Regions from separate parts of the Homo sapiens genome. Here region 2 is linked to region 1. The links are contacts of gene promoters, found by promoter capture Hi-C in blood cells and fetal thymus (Javierre and others, 2016). All regions are on one chromosome and are shown on one strand. Each heading gives the region's core, a stretch centred on a gene start or on the middle of the fragment in contact. The rest is flanking DNA. Distances are from core to core; before and after follow the strand shown. Region 1 holds the start of MIR4519 (microRNA 4519). Region 2 holds the start of FBRS (fibrosin).

The links. Contacts are between HindIII fragments. The CHiCAGO score rates a contact against its expected background, and 5 or more counts as called.
Region 2: the fragment with the promoter of FBRS here is called in contact with a fragment that was not itself captured in region 1 in 2 of 17 cell types (fetal thymus and M0 macrophages); the score reaches 5.1 in fetal thymus.

What each region holds. Positions count from the first base shown.
Region 1 is chr16:30,872,624-30,879,569 of GRCh38, reverse strand. MIR4519 (microRNA 4519) reads left to right here and starts at 4,247; the gene lies at 4,247-4,304. MIR762HG (MIR762 host gene) reads right to left here and starts at 4,110. Exons shown (of 3, transcript NR_110942.1): 1 at 4,084-4,110; 2 at 3,452-3,540. It also overlaps a transcript of BCL7C not described here. RefSeq lists a silencer at 3,338-3,397 and enhancers at 3,718-3,767, 3,798-4,007, 3,317-4,071, 4,278-4,537, 4,072-4,826 and 1 more. The HindIII fragment of the contact is 2,091 bases long and covers 2,760-4,850 here.
Region 2 is chr16:30,654,232-30,661,177 of GRCh38, reverse strand. FBRS (fibrosin) reads right to left here and starts at 2,747. Exons shown (of 18, transcript NM_001105079.3): 1 at 1,201-2,747; 2 at 736-915. The coding sequence starts at 1,659. It overlaps PRR14 (proline rich 14), which reads right to left. Exons shown (of 12, transcript NM_024031.5): 7 at 6,839-6,946; 8 at 5,964-6,549; 9 at 5,758-5,827; 10 at 5,585-5,676; 11 at 5,239-5,310; 12 at 4,765-5,146. The coding sequence ends at 4,867. RefSeq lists enhancers at 192-351, 2,032-2,481 and silencers at 1,562-1,611, 1,682-1,911, 2,732-2,911, 2,962-3,041, 3,072-3,331. The HindIII fragment of the contact is 16,259 bases long and covers 1-6,946 here.

The DNA.
Region 1 (6,946 bases), core at 2,556-5,055:
TGTTTTAAAGTAACGGATTGGGTGAACCTGTTCTGGAACTTCATGTAAATAGAATTAAGCAGTATGTAACTCTTTTGCATCTGTTTTCTTTTACTCAGGCTAATATTCTTGAGGGTCATCCGGATTATTGTGTGAATCAGTAGTTTGTTCCTTTTTACTGCTAAATTATATTCCATAGGCCAGGATCACTCTGCTGGGTGGAGAAGAGATGGGCCCTGCCAGGGCTCAGAGACTCAGGTGAATGCACCACAGGGAGATGGACAGCCTTTTCTTAGGAATTTCTAGAATGCGAAGTCTGTGGCATCAGTCTCCCCAAAAATCTGGGAAAACAGAACTACATCAGGAGAATCTAGCATGACCAAGCATCCCTGTTTGCCCAGGACTTTCTTGGTTTTAGCACTGCAGGTTCCATGTCCCAGGAGACACCCCAGTCTTGAGCAAACTGGGATGGCTGATCACCATCACCCTAGCAGGATCCTGCCACTGCCCTTGGGGCTTCCGGACCCTTTTCACACAAGATTACATTCTGTTCCTCCTACAGAATGATTTTCCTTAAACTCTAAACTGGGCTCCTCTCCTGTTCTAAAACTTCCCATGGCTCCCCATGGCTGAGCCTGGCAACTGAAAGCACGTAGTCTCTGGTAGTGTGCATACTGGAATCACCTGGGGAATCATTTAAATATTCTGATGGCTGCCTTCTACCCTTGACATTTTTTTTTTTTTTTTTGAGACGGAGTCTCGCTTTGTCACCCAGGCTGGAGTGCAGTGGCACGATCTCAGCTCACTGCAACCTCTGCCTCCCGGGTTCAAGTGATTCTTCTGCCTCAGCCTCCTGAGTAGCTGGGATTACAGGTGCGTGCCACCACGCCCAGCTAATTTTTGTATTTTTAGTAGAGACTGGGTTTCACCATGTTGGTCAGGCTGGTCTCAAGCTCCTGACCTCGTGATCCACCCACCTCGGCCTCCCAGAGTGCCAGGATTACAGGCGTGAGCCACCACGCCCAGCCACCCCAGACATTTTTGTTTTTTTTGAAATAGAGTCTCGCTCTGTCGCCCAGGCTGGAGTGCAGTGGCACGATCTCGGCTCATTGCAACCTCTGCCTCCTGGGTTCAAGTGATTCTCCTGCCTCAGCCTCCCGAGTAGCTGGGACTACAGGCGCGTGCCACCACACCCAGCTAATTTTTTTAAATTTTTTTATTTTTAGTAGAGACGGGGTTTCACCGTGTTAGCCAGGATGGTCTCAATCTCCTGACCTTGTGATCCGTCTCCCTCGGCCTCCCAAAGTGCTGGGATTACAGGCATGAGCCACCACACCCGGCCCCACCCCAGACATTTTACATTGGTATCATGTGCAACCTGGGCCCTGGGATTTTTTGTTTTGTTTTGTTTTTTTGAGTCTTGAGTTTAGCTCTATCGCCCAGGCTGCAGTGCAGTGGCATGATCTTGGGTCACTGCAACCTCCGCCTCCCAGGTTCAAGCCATTCTCGTGCCTCAGCCTCCCAAGTAGCTGGGATTACAGGTGCCTGCCACCACACCCGGCTAATTTTTGTATTTTTAGTAGAGATGGGGTTTCACCATGTTGTCCAGGCTGGTCTCGAACTCCTGACCTCAGGTGATCCACCCGCCTTGGCCTCCCAAAGTGCTGAGATTACAGGCATCAGCCACTGCGCCCGGCCAAGGGCCCTGGGATTTTTACAAGCTCCTCAGGTGATGCTAACATGCTGCAAAGCTTGGAGCTGTGAGCCTGTGAATGTGATTTGTTTGGCTTACATGGTGTTGAACATGTTGGCAACATTAAAATCAAGTGATTTCATATAAAAATCTGGACTAGGCTGGGCGCGGTGGCTCACGCCTGTAATCCCAGCACTTTGGGAGGCCGAGGCGGGTGGATCACGAGGTCAGGAGATCGAGACCATCCTGGCTAACACGGTGAAACCCCATCTCTACTAAAAATACAACAAATTAGCTGGGCGCGGTGGCGGGTGCCTGTAGTCCCAGCTACTCGGGAGGCTGAGGCAGGAGAATGGCCTGAACCCAGGAGGCGGAGCTTGCAGTGAGCCGAGATAGTGCCACTGCACTCGGGCCTGGTGAAAGAGCGAGACTCCGTCTCAAAAAAAAAAAAAAAATCTGGACTCAGGCCGGGTGACGTGCCTCACACTGTAACCCCAGCACTTTGGGAGGCTGAGGCAGGAGGACTGCTTGAGCCTAGGAGTTGAGGCTACAGTGAGCTATGTGTTGCTACCCTTCAACCTGCGCGACAGAGCAAGATCCTGTCTCTACCAAAAATAAAAAAAGAAATCTGGACTCCAGCTACCCTTGAAAGCAGATATTCTGAGATACTGAGTTTGCCTCCTGGAGTGGTCATGGGGCGGAGGTTGGTGGGGTAGGGGGGTAGGGGGTGCAGAACACTGACTGCCCTGGGGGCGGAGTCTCTGCCCTTCAGTCCCCGCAATCCCTACCGCTCCCTGGTGTTCCACTCTCCTCCTTGCTGTTCACTTGCATGGCCTCCAGGCTAATGGCTGAGTTTTGCGGCCAGGCATTTCAGGCCTCCCAGCCTTGGCCTCTGCTCACCTTCTCCACCTCCTCACTCCCTGCTCTAGTCATCTTCATCTCATGTCCTGCCCTCCAGCCACATGGGCTTCTTGGTCCCTTCCACACCTGTTTTTGCCCATGGAGTTCTCCCACCAAGTTCCTTATGGTAGAAAAGCCCCTGCTGGATTTGGCCCCTGCCCACCTCTCCTGCCCCTTTCCCCAAGCTTTCTTCCAACTCATGCATAGAACTTCTACCACAAGGAAGCTGGCCAGGCTGTTAGCACTCCCGTTCCCTCTGTCTGTGAAGCCCTTTCCTTCCCTCCACCCTCCCCTTCTCTCTCTTATCTCAGGCTTTGGGTTTGATTTCACCTCCTCCAAGGTTCCCTGACCTTCAAACTAGGTCAGGTCCCTGGTTAGTCACTATACTTCCTCTTTCTCACCTCCTTCATCTCACTTCCCCTGCTAGAATAAGGCCACATCTGTCTCATAATCTCTGTCTTCCTAGGGCCTAGTGTGGTGCCTGGCATACAGTAGGTGCTCATTAATGATAAATGAATGAAAGCAAGCACATCTCCCTTTCTCTACTGGCAAAATCCTAATCCTTTTCTGGTTACATTTCTCCTGTAGCATCCAATTCTGTTCTCGAGACCCAAAAGATCCCTGAGGTCCTGTGATCAATGGAGTTTTAGCTCAGGTCCATTTCACAGTGGGCCCAGGGGATCCCCAGATTCATCCGTGGTTATTTCCCCAGGCACAGAGTGAGTGCACTGGTGGCACAGGCATACCCAGCAAGTGGCATAATCCCCCCCATTAGTTAACTGGGTGTCGCTGTGCATGGCTGTGAAGGCAGGGATGCACCTGGCTGGTGACCCCAGAACCCCTCCGGGTACGGCACAAGGGCAGAGCCCAAGAACTTACTTTCTGTCCTCTTGCATTTGCCTGTGGATTTGCAGTTGGTAATGGCGTTCTTGCCCGGCCCTCCTTTGTTCCTCCAGGCAGCCAGGCAGCTGTGGCGTAGTGAAAGGGCAGGATGCGGGATAGGAATGGAGTTATTCCTGATTCAGACTGATTTGCTCTAACTGTGATTTGGGGCAAGTCCCTTCCCCTGTCTAGACCTTAGCTGGCTGCCGCATCTAAAAAATGGAGCCAATAATCTTTTCCTCGTCTTTGGGGTCATCCATCTTTCAACCACATCAGGAGCAGCGGGAACCAAGTGCAGAGGATGGCCTTAAAAGCAGTATGGGAACCAAATTTTTGTAAAGTAAATATTTTCAACCTTTATATTTTGGAATCACCAGCGGTATTTATTACGTGCACTCTAGGAAATGGAGGCAATGCAATGCCAAAAACAGAAAGTAAAACTGCTGTCCTGTGCCGCGGCCCGGTGGAGGTTTTAATGTCTGTATCTTAAGATCTGGTGAGGGCACGGGTAGGTGCGGCTGGACTGAGTGAAACCAGCCCCGCTGGGCGCCTGGGCCCTTGTCTCAGGGCTGTGCTCGCAGTGGAGGCATCTGCAGCTCGGCACCCAGAGGCCCCGCGACCCTTCCAACCTTTGTGACGCTCCGCGGAGACAAAGGCCGGCGGCGCAGCCTTGGGAAGGGTTAAGGCCACAGACGCAGCCCTGCGCGTGCTAGAGCGGCCGGTGGCGGACTTCCGGTTGGGGCGCGGGCGCGCGCCGCGTGTTCCCGACCCGCCGAGGCTGAGACCTCGGGCAACCTCAGCAGTGCGCAGGGCTGCACTGTCTCCGTCTGCGGCCTGCAGTAAGCGGGTAGGGGATATGTCGCGTGGCCTCGCCTGGTCTGCGGCGGGAAACTCGCATCTAGGCCAGACCCTCCCGCAGGGTCCGCACTCGCGATCTGGGCTGTGGGCAGCATCGTGGCCCCTCGGGGCGTTATAGGGGCGTGAGGATCCCGGGCGAGCTGGGGGCGGGCGGCTTCTTCAGCTCCCTTGCGCCATGGAACCCACTGTATGCCCGTTATGCAGTCAGGAAAGATGAGGCCGGGAAGGAGGGCGTTACGCTGCAACCCCGGAGACCAGCTGTCCCTCGCGTTGCCGCAGTCGGCAGAGGCGTGGCCGGAGCCATTCCCGGTCTCCAGTGCGGCTGCAAGAGCGGGCGCCCGAGGGCGTTCTGCTCCGGGCCTCCACCCGCGAGCTGACCGTGTCAGGCGCGCCACACACGGCGCTTCTCATTCTCTCTCCACCTCGCGAGGCAGAAGCTGCCGTTCCCGTGTCACAGACAGAAAAACAGTCTGGGGTGATTTATCCGGAGTCAAGACTCAGGTCTGTGGCTCAGTCGGGAAGGATAGAAACCCAAGCTTCCTCCGAATGGTTCAGAGACCCGACCAAGTTAAATAATAATGGCCCTGGCTCAGGGGTCTTTAAGTCTTCCCCCCGCCCTCCCCTTTTGTTTTTGTTTTGTTTTGAGACCGCCTCACTGTCCCCCAGGCTGGAGTGCAGCGGTGCGATCTCCGCTCACTGCAGCTTCGACCTCCCGAGGGCTCAGGTGATCCTCCCACCTCAACCTCAGGAGTGTCTGGGACTACAAACACGCGCCACCACGCCCGGCTAATTTTTCTGTTTTTTGTAGAGTCAGGATCTCGCTATGTTGTCCAGGCTGGTCTGGAACTCCTGGGCTCAAGCGATCCTCCTGCCTCGGCCTCTGAAAGTGCTGGGATTACAGGCATGAGCCACCGCACCTGGCTACCCTTTAATTAACTCAAGGAGTTTAATAATTGAATTTAGGCTGGGCTCAGTGGCTCACGCCTGTAATCCTAGCACTTTAAGAGGCCACGTCGGGCAGATCACTTGAGGTCAGGAGTTCAAGACCAGTCTGGCCAACATGGTGAAACCCTGTCTCTACTAAAAATACAAAAATTAGACGGATGTGGTGCCACACACCTGTAATCCCAGCTACTCGGGAGGCTGAGGCAGGAGAATCCCTTGAACCCGGGAGGCAGAGGTTGCAGTGAGCCAAGATCGCACCACTGCACTCTAGCCTGGGCCACAGAGCAAGAATCTGTCTCAAAAAAAAAAAAAAAGGTTTGACACCTATACCTTCCTCTGTGTGTGTGTGTGTGTGTGTATACATATATCTATATATATATGTATATAGAGAGAGGAGGAAAAATTATATAATTTTTCTATATGTGTGTGTGTGTATATATATCTGTACAATTTTTTTTTTTTTTGAGACAGTGTAGCTCTGTGGCCCAGGATGGAGTGCAGGGACTCGATCTCGGCTCACTGCAACCTCCGCCTCCCAGGTTCAAGCGATTCTCCTGCCTCAGCCTCCCGAGTAGCTGGGATTACAGGCTGCTGCTACCATGCCTGGGTAATTTTTGTATTTTTAGTAGAGACAGGGTTTTGCTATGTTGCCCAGGCTGGTCTGGAACTCCTGAGCTCAAAAGTGATCTGCCTGCCCCAGCCTCCCCAAATGCTGGGATTACAGGTCTGAGCCATCACACCCGGCCCATATATACGTATTTTAAAATAACACCTTTACTGAGAGAGATGACTCACACACCATACAACTCACCCATTTAAAGTGTACAGTTCAATGATTCTTAGTATCTTCACAGTTTTGCAAATATCACCACAGTCAATTTTAGAACATTTTCATTACCCCTAAAAGAAACCATACCCATTAACAGTAACTCCCAAGCCTTCCTCCCACTACAGCTCTAGACTACTGCAAATCTACTTTCTGTCTCTATAGAGTTGATTATTTTGGACATTTCATATTAGGGCTTTATGTGGCCTTTTTTGACTGAGATAACCTTTTTGTTGTTGTTTTTAACAAAATCAACTCCTTGAGCTCAGAGCCCTGGCCTATAATCATAGCCAGCTAGAACTGAACAGCATTGTTTTGGTTTTATTGTATCTATTTTTACCACTCTTGGGTACATGATAATTTCTCATTTATGGCAGTGGTTAAAGTTTCCTTTTGAATACACCTAGTTCCATCAAAACGTGAGTTGATAATTTTTAAAGAACAAGATTAAGTAAACAGAAGTAGAGGTGGTCCACAAATTTGTCAGAGGTTGGGAAGATGGGATGTGAATGAAGTTTGGCAAACACTGGATTGTCTGATTTACGGTTCTCCAGGTCATCATTTGAAAACCACCCTCACCTTATTCTTTCATTGCATTTTCCTGACAACTCCTGTAAAGAAGTGCATGATTTTACCGATGAAGAAACAGGTTCAGAGAAGTCAGGTACAATTACTTGTCCAGTGTCACACAGCTAGTGACAGAAGCTAGGCTTAACCAAGTCTGTCTGATTGCCAAAACTACCTACTTACCAAGTCTGGAAGTAGGATAGGGGGTGGGGAATGGACTAGCAGGCTTGAGAGGGGACTCTGGCCACTACCCAAAACATGCGGGCACCAGGCTGCCTGAGTTGTTTTGGGTACCT
Region 2 (6,946 bases), core at 1,498-3,997, 220 kb after region 1:
GAGGAAGACCAGAGTCCAGAGGTGAGGGAGGCGGCTGCTGAGGCAGCTGGGAAAGTCGCAGCTCCCAGCAGGGCGCTCATGGGCCTCCAGGATCTACTCTCAGCCTCTCCTTCCAGCTGCTTCTCCCGCCACTGCCCACCCGGGTCCCAGTGCTCTCACCATTCTCTAAATACGCCGGGTCCTCACGTCTTCATGCTCTTGCCCAAAACAACTTTTCCCCGTGTCTTTTCTTAGCAAACTTCTGACTATACTTCAGGACCTGACTAAGACATCCTAGGGGGCTTTCCCCAACCACAACTCTCCTCCCATCCCCCAGGCAGCACAAGCGGCTTCCTCATGTGGGTTTCTGTAGCATCTCTCCCCATCTTTGTCTTCTGTAGCTTCTCAAATTAAGGTCTAGGTGTTTGCTTGCTGGCTATTTCTTTTCTGCTGGACTGCCACCACCTCGAGGAAGGGCAGGAACCACAATTAATTTACGACCCAACTATATTCCTTTGACGCCTCTCTGAATTATCAAAACGTTTGAAGTAGACACAGAACCAGGCAAAAGGAGGTGCACCTGACTGTAGACAGGCCTTCGTCAGACCCGGATGAGTAAGGGCTCAAATTTGCCCTGCTTGCCTCTTTGCCCTTAGAAACTGGGGTCTCTGTTTACAAGGGGCAGTGGCGTTGCTGATGAAAAACGGGGCTGTGGGAAATACATTCTGCCTAAAGAGTTTTAAGGGACAACCTCACCTCTTTTCTTCTCCGCTTATTGGGCCATTTTCGGGCCCGATCCCCAGGGGGCCGGCCAGGCTCTCGATCAGAGCTGTCCCCTGGCTCCCCGGTGGCCCCACTGGAGCCCCCCCTTTTCCGCTTCCCAGAATGCTTCAGCCGATGTTCCAGTCGCTCTGGGGGCTGAAGAGATGCATCCTTCTGTGGAGGAGGAGGTGGGGCTGAGATAGATGGAAAAGGGCAAGCTCCCAACCCCTCTAGGGGTGACCAGGTTGCCGAAGTACCCCTCGGGCCGGGAAACCGGGTCCCCAGAGACGAGCTCTACCTCCTCCCACCCCAGGGCGGGGCAGAGGCCTGGCCAGAGGAGCCGGTTGCTCTGGTTTGGGGTGCCAGCATTCCCCCCTCAACTCCACCCACTAGGGGCACTGCCCCCTCCTTGCTGCCCCTCGGAAACCCCCAAAGTCTCCTAGCCCCATTAGGCCCCACCTGCAAGGCCTCGAGGGTGGCGAAGCTGGCGATGGCGAAGCCATCGATCAAGTCCTCCTCCTCCTCTTCCTCCTCCTCAGGCTCCTCCTCGGCTTCGCCGTCGTCTGCGCCCCCCTCCTCCTCCTCCTCCTCCTCTTCCTCCCCGCGGCTGCCCGAGCCGGCAGGCCGCTTCCGAGCTCGGGGTCGCGGGGGTCGAGGTCTCGGACGGGGCCGCCGGCGTCTCGGGCCCCCAGGCCGCTCTCCAGACGAAGCTGACGACCAAGGCCTGGCGGGCGGCGGCGGCGACGACGAGGACGAGGAGCCGCGCGGGGCGGCCAACAGGGCCCGGGGCGCGTCGCCGCCTGGACCTCGGCGGCGCCGCTGCTCCCGGTCTCGGTCTCGGCGCGAGCAGCGCCGCCGTCGGCGCTCCCCCTCTGCTGCCCAGCCCGGACCCGGGGCCGCGGCCGCTGCCGTCTCCATGGCGACCGCCCTCAGCGCCGCATCCGGAGGCGGCGGGGCCCGAAGCGGCCTGTCCGCAGGCCCGGGGTCGCAGGCGCGGCGCTGGCGGCTGCACAGTGACGAGAGGGCCACGGCTTCTCCTTTAAAGCCGGATCTGCTGGCCCCGAGCTTGCCCCAAGGCCACGGCCCGGGGAGCCGGCGCCGCCCCCGGGGCGACAAGCCCGAGGGCCCCCCCTGCGGGCTCGGCGGGGCCGCGACGGCGAAAACGGGGCGGCCGTCCCTTTAAGGCGAGGCCCCAAGTTGTCCAGCTCCCGGCCCCTTTAAGACGACCCGACAGTGTCCGGCGGCCTAGTGCGGTGGCCACCCCCTGCCAGGGGTCGATGCAAGTCTCCCCGAGGAAGAGGAAGGGCCACCCCTTTAAAAGGGGCCGAAAGCTCGCCCCGAAACGCAGACCTCCCCTTTAAAAGTGTCTCAAGTCCTCCGGCTCAAAGAGGCCACCCCTTTAAGGAGTCCAGGGTCCTTCTAACAGCAGGCCGTCCCTTTAAGGGCTCGGAGTTAGTTTCTAGTCCTCCACAAGCGGCCACTTCCCCTTTAAGTTGAATTTAAAAGACTTCTTGTGTGTGGGGGAGGAGGACGTAAAGAAAAACCCCACTCGCCCCAGTTCTCCCAACGGCACAGTTCTCAATTTGTCAGCGTCTGCTCGGCGGCTTCCCCTTTAAGGCTGGCGTTGCAGTCCGCCGAGTTCAGTGGCCACCCCTTTAAGGAGATTTAAAGGGGCCTCCTCCGGGCCCAGCTCCTCCAGCCTCCGCCTCCGGTCGCCATGAAAGGCGCGAGGCGGGGCGGGGCAGCGAGGCCAGCCCTCCAAAGCCCCGGATGTGAGGCAACGGTGACGGGTACAGCTCCCCTGTCCGCCGACATAAAAGTCTCTTCCTCCTTTCCTCCGTCTCTGTCCGACTTGGGCCTTAGGGGATCCGGAACGGCCGATGGGCAGCGGGGGAGCTCCAGCACAAACTCCTGTTGTCTCCTTTGGAGTCTTAGGGCGCTTCTCCGCCAGGACTTCCCTACCCCTCCTCCCTCTTCCTCCTCAGCCTACGCCTCCTTCCTCTCTCGGCCTCCTCCCACGCTCCGCCCCCTTCCCCTCACCCCCAACGGGCGCAGTCGTTGATAGGCTGGGAGGGCTACGTCAAGGTGAGGGGCGGAGCCAAACCCGAGGGAGTGGGTGCATGTAACCGCCCTCAAATCTTGGATTGGGTTACGTCGGATTGGCTCCGCCCTTCCCCCCAGTCTTGTGACTCGACTGGTTAGAAGTAGGTGTTTGGGGCGGTTACTACAGGGCCCCGCCTCTTCCTGCTGTTTGTTTATTGGCCGGTCTCCTGATGGCGTCGAGGCGAGGGGCGGAGACGCGGGGCCTGAGGCGTTGGGGGCGGTTGGCCGCCGGGGGGCGCGCGGCTGCAAGAGGTTCCGTTCCACAGCCAGTTAAGTCATCGCCGCCTTTCCGCCGCTCGGCGCGGCCCACAGACAGCCTGGCGTCTCGCGCACGCGCGTGGCGGCGCCGCCGTCAGGCTGGCTGCTTGCGAGTCGTTCCGCGGCCCGGGGTGGCCCGAGCGGCCGCGTGCTGTGCCTGCGCCTGCGCCGGCCGCACTAACAGGCAGCCGCGTCCCTTCCAGGCGCGGCTGCTGGCAGCGGTCCCGAGTGCTAGCAATTCGAAAACGCCTTGCACCTGCATGAGCGCTTCTCCGCGTTTGTGACTGCGTTTGGTAATAATTCCATGAAGGAGATGCTGTCAGCCCCATTTTACTGGGACGGAAAGGAATGCGCGCACAGACGGGCTGGTAGTCTCCTAGCCACGTCTATGTCAGCCACTGCCCTGTGATGCCTCTCAGTTATGAAAGATGCACCCCACTGCTCAATGTGACTGGCTTAAAAAAAAAGAGACAGCCATTTCTGGCCTTCGGTTGCCCGGGTTACCGTTTTAAAAGTGGACAGCGCGCTGACATGCCTGCCTTGCTTTCTCGTCCATAAAATGACTAATTCCCTGTCGCAGGGACATGTGCAGGTCAAGCACCTATGACAGTCGTCGTGAGTGCTTCATTATGGCCCATTACTCTTAGCTCTTTGTTTTGTTTTGTTTTTTTGGGGGGGACAGAGTCTGGCTGTGTTCCCTAAGCTGGAGTGCAGTGGTGCGATCTCAGCTCATTACAACCTCTGCCTCTCGGGTTCAAGTGAATTCTCCTGGCTCAGCCTCCTGAGTAGCTGGGATTACAGGTACACACCAAGACACCCAGCTAATATTTGTATTTTTAGTGGAGACGGGGTTTCACCATGTTGGCCAAGCTGGTCTCGAACTCCTAGGCTCCTGTGATCCACCTGCCTCGGCCTCCCAAAGCGCTGGGATTACAGGCGTAAGCCACCGCACCTGGCCTAGCCGTAGCTCTTGAATCCAGCAGCAGGTCCTGGCCTGCATGTTAGCAGGAATTCAGGGCCATCTTGATCTTCAAGGCCTTGACCCACTATAGGCCTTTCAGTCTCCTTGATATAAATGAATTGGGAGAACCCAGACCACGGTCTAGGGTCACAGTATCATCTGGCACTGATTCAGAAGTGTCCCTCCACACAGGAGAATCCTCTAAGCAAGAGAGTATCTCTAGGCCGGGCATGGTGGCTCATGCCTGTAATCCCAGCACTTAGGGAGGCCAAAGCAGGCGGATTTCCTGAGGTCAGATGTTCAAGACCATCCTGGCCAACATGGTGAAGCCCAGTTTCTACTAAAAATACAAAAATTAGCGGGTGTGGTAGCGCACGCCTGTAATCCCAGATACTTGGGAGGCTGAGGCAGGAGAATCGCTTGAATGAGGGAGACAGAGGTTGCAGTGAGCCAAGATCGTGCCATTGTACTCCAGCCTGAGTGACATGAGCGGAACTCCATCTATATCTATCATCTATCTATCTATCTATCTATCTATCTATCTATCTATCTATCTCAAGTGACCACTTCACCCCCTCCCTGTACTCTGTACCCAACCCCTGTCACCATCTCTAGCACCAGCCCCAGTTCCCAGACCTTTGGGGGTCAACGTAGAAACATCAGCCAAATCAATCTTAAACTCAGCTAGAGATACAAAAGAATCAGAAACATATCGAAAACTTTACTAGAAATATAGAGAAAAAAAAATAACTGCCTGGGAGGTTTCCTGTCCCTTCAGGATGGATGACCAACAGATGGGGCACCTAGGTCCAGTGGGGCTGCTCCCGATCTACTGTTTCTTCCTCCAGGAGCAAGGCATCTAGCTCCTCCAGCCGCTGCTGGAGCAGGGGGCCCACATCAGGGCTGGGGGCCACATTGGGAGGAACAGTCCTGCCCCCTGCAGCCCGGACCCCACGGGACGGTCTTCGTGATCGAGGAAGGCTGCTGTCCCGAAATTCCACAGCCCGCCGGAGCTTCCTTGAGCTGGTGAAAATCAGAGTCCCATTGCGCTCCCGGGGTTCCTCAAAGATGGTCTCAAAGGTCCTGAACAAGGCAGGGAGAGGAGCTGGTTTTATCAGGGTGCTCCACAGCTCCAGATTTCCCTCTGCCACCCTCTAGCCTTCCAAGTGTCTCACCTCCTGGTTGTGGGTGATTGGTAATTCTTGTTGGTGTAAATTTCTTCCAAGCTGAACTCCTTCTTGTTCAACCTGTGAGCAAAGAGCAGAGGCCACTGAGAAACCTTGGGCCAGTGGGGCCTGAAGGGACAGGTAAGGCCTGGTCTGTATTTCAGTTTCTGGGACATGTCAGGGCCAGGAGTGCTACATAAGGCAGACAGGCAATTTTGAGCACAAACCATCCCCACACCGAATTGAATCTTTCAGGCTGGACTGTGCTCCCTGAGGGGAGACAAAGCTATACTTCAGGGGACATAAGCCTGCATCTGTTTGGCCAAGATGGCTCAATGCCCAGTGAGCCCCTCACCTGATTGGTCGAGGCAGTCCCATTGGTGTAAGGTTTAGCTGAGGACGGGCTGGTGTTCTGCGTATTCTGAATCGAGAAACCTTTCCCATGGTCTGCAAAAATGGGGCAGAGGGTGAAAGAGTGACATGGGCTCAGGCCCCCACTAGTCTCTTCTACCCGATCTGAATGCCTACCTTGGTCTCAGGTTCTGAAAGCACCTGGTCCTTTGAGGCTCTTGGCTCCTTCCCTTTGGTTGAACCCAACCTGCCAAGAAGGTCAAGGCTCAGGGACAAACAGGATTCACTGCATTATCCCCCGTCTCCTGCCCACTGGATACTCAGGGAAGGAGGCTGGGACCAGGCTGCAGCCAGGCTTCAAGGGGGTTTTTTGAGAGCACTACCTGGGTTCTGCTGGTTCGGAGAAGGAAGTGGATGCCGTGGACGAGCAAGATGTGGTGAGAGAAGGGGAGGCTCCCACTCCTCCGAGAGGGAAGACCTCTTTCCGGAGACAGGGCCGAGGGGGTGGCGGGGCTCGGGCCATTTCCCCACCACCCACAGTGTGCCGCCGCGGCCGTGGTCGGCTTGGTTGGGGTGGAGCAGGTGGCCAGGTGCAGGTACCTGGGCCAGGGGGCCCCAGATCAGGGCAGGAGTAGCTTCGGCCCAGAGAGGGCTTAGGGAGAAGTGCTGGGGTATTGTGGTCCTGAGTTCGCCACTGGCGGATTGGGGGCCGGGGGCTGACAGACGCAGTGCCCTCAGCAGCCCCAGACTGCTCGGCCTCTGAGATGGCGATCTTCAACTCCAGCTTCATTGGGGGGGACGGGGGTGGGGGCTGTGGGGTTTTGTTGGGCGTGAGGAAGATGTCAGCAAAGCTCTCCAGCTTGGAGCGGACGGAACGGAAGAGCGGGGCCAAGCCCCAGGGACTGAGGCGGGGGCGTAAAAGGCTGGACGGTGGTGGGGTGGATGGGAGCTCCAGAGCAGGATCTGGGGCTGAGGAAAGGAGAGGGTCACAGGTGGATATTCCTTGGCTGCAGTGTCTCAGCCCCTCCCCACATGCTCAACTTTGTGCACAGGGGAATTAGCCCACCCTTAAAACACTAAGTTCTGCATTTAAGAATTGAACTTCAAGCCTCTGACATCAACATCCCATCTTTATATACCAAGCCCTGCCCTGGGAGGTGGCTTAAGCCCTATCCCCAACTCTGTACCTGACACTTCCAAGCTCAACTAGGATGTCCCAGACACCCAAGTCTCATCCGATCTCTACCCAAGTCCTTACCTGTTGGTGGGCTCTCCAGAGGGTCTGCAGGCAGAGCAGATGGCTGGAATGGGGGTTCTAGGTCCCCAGGTGGAGGCGTTGGCTGGCGAACTATCCTCATGGGCTCAG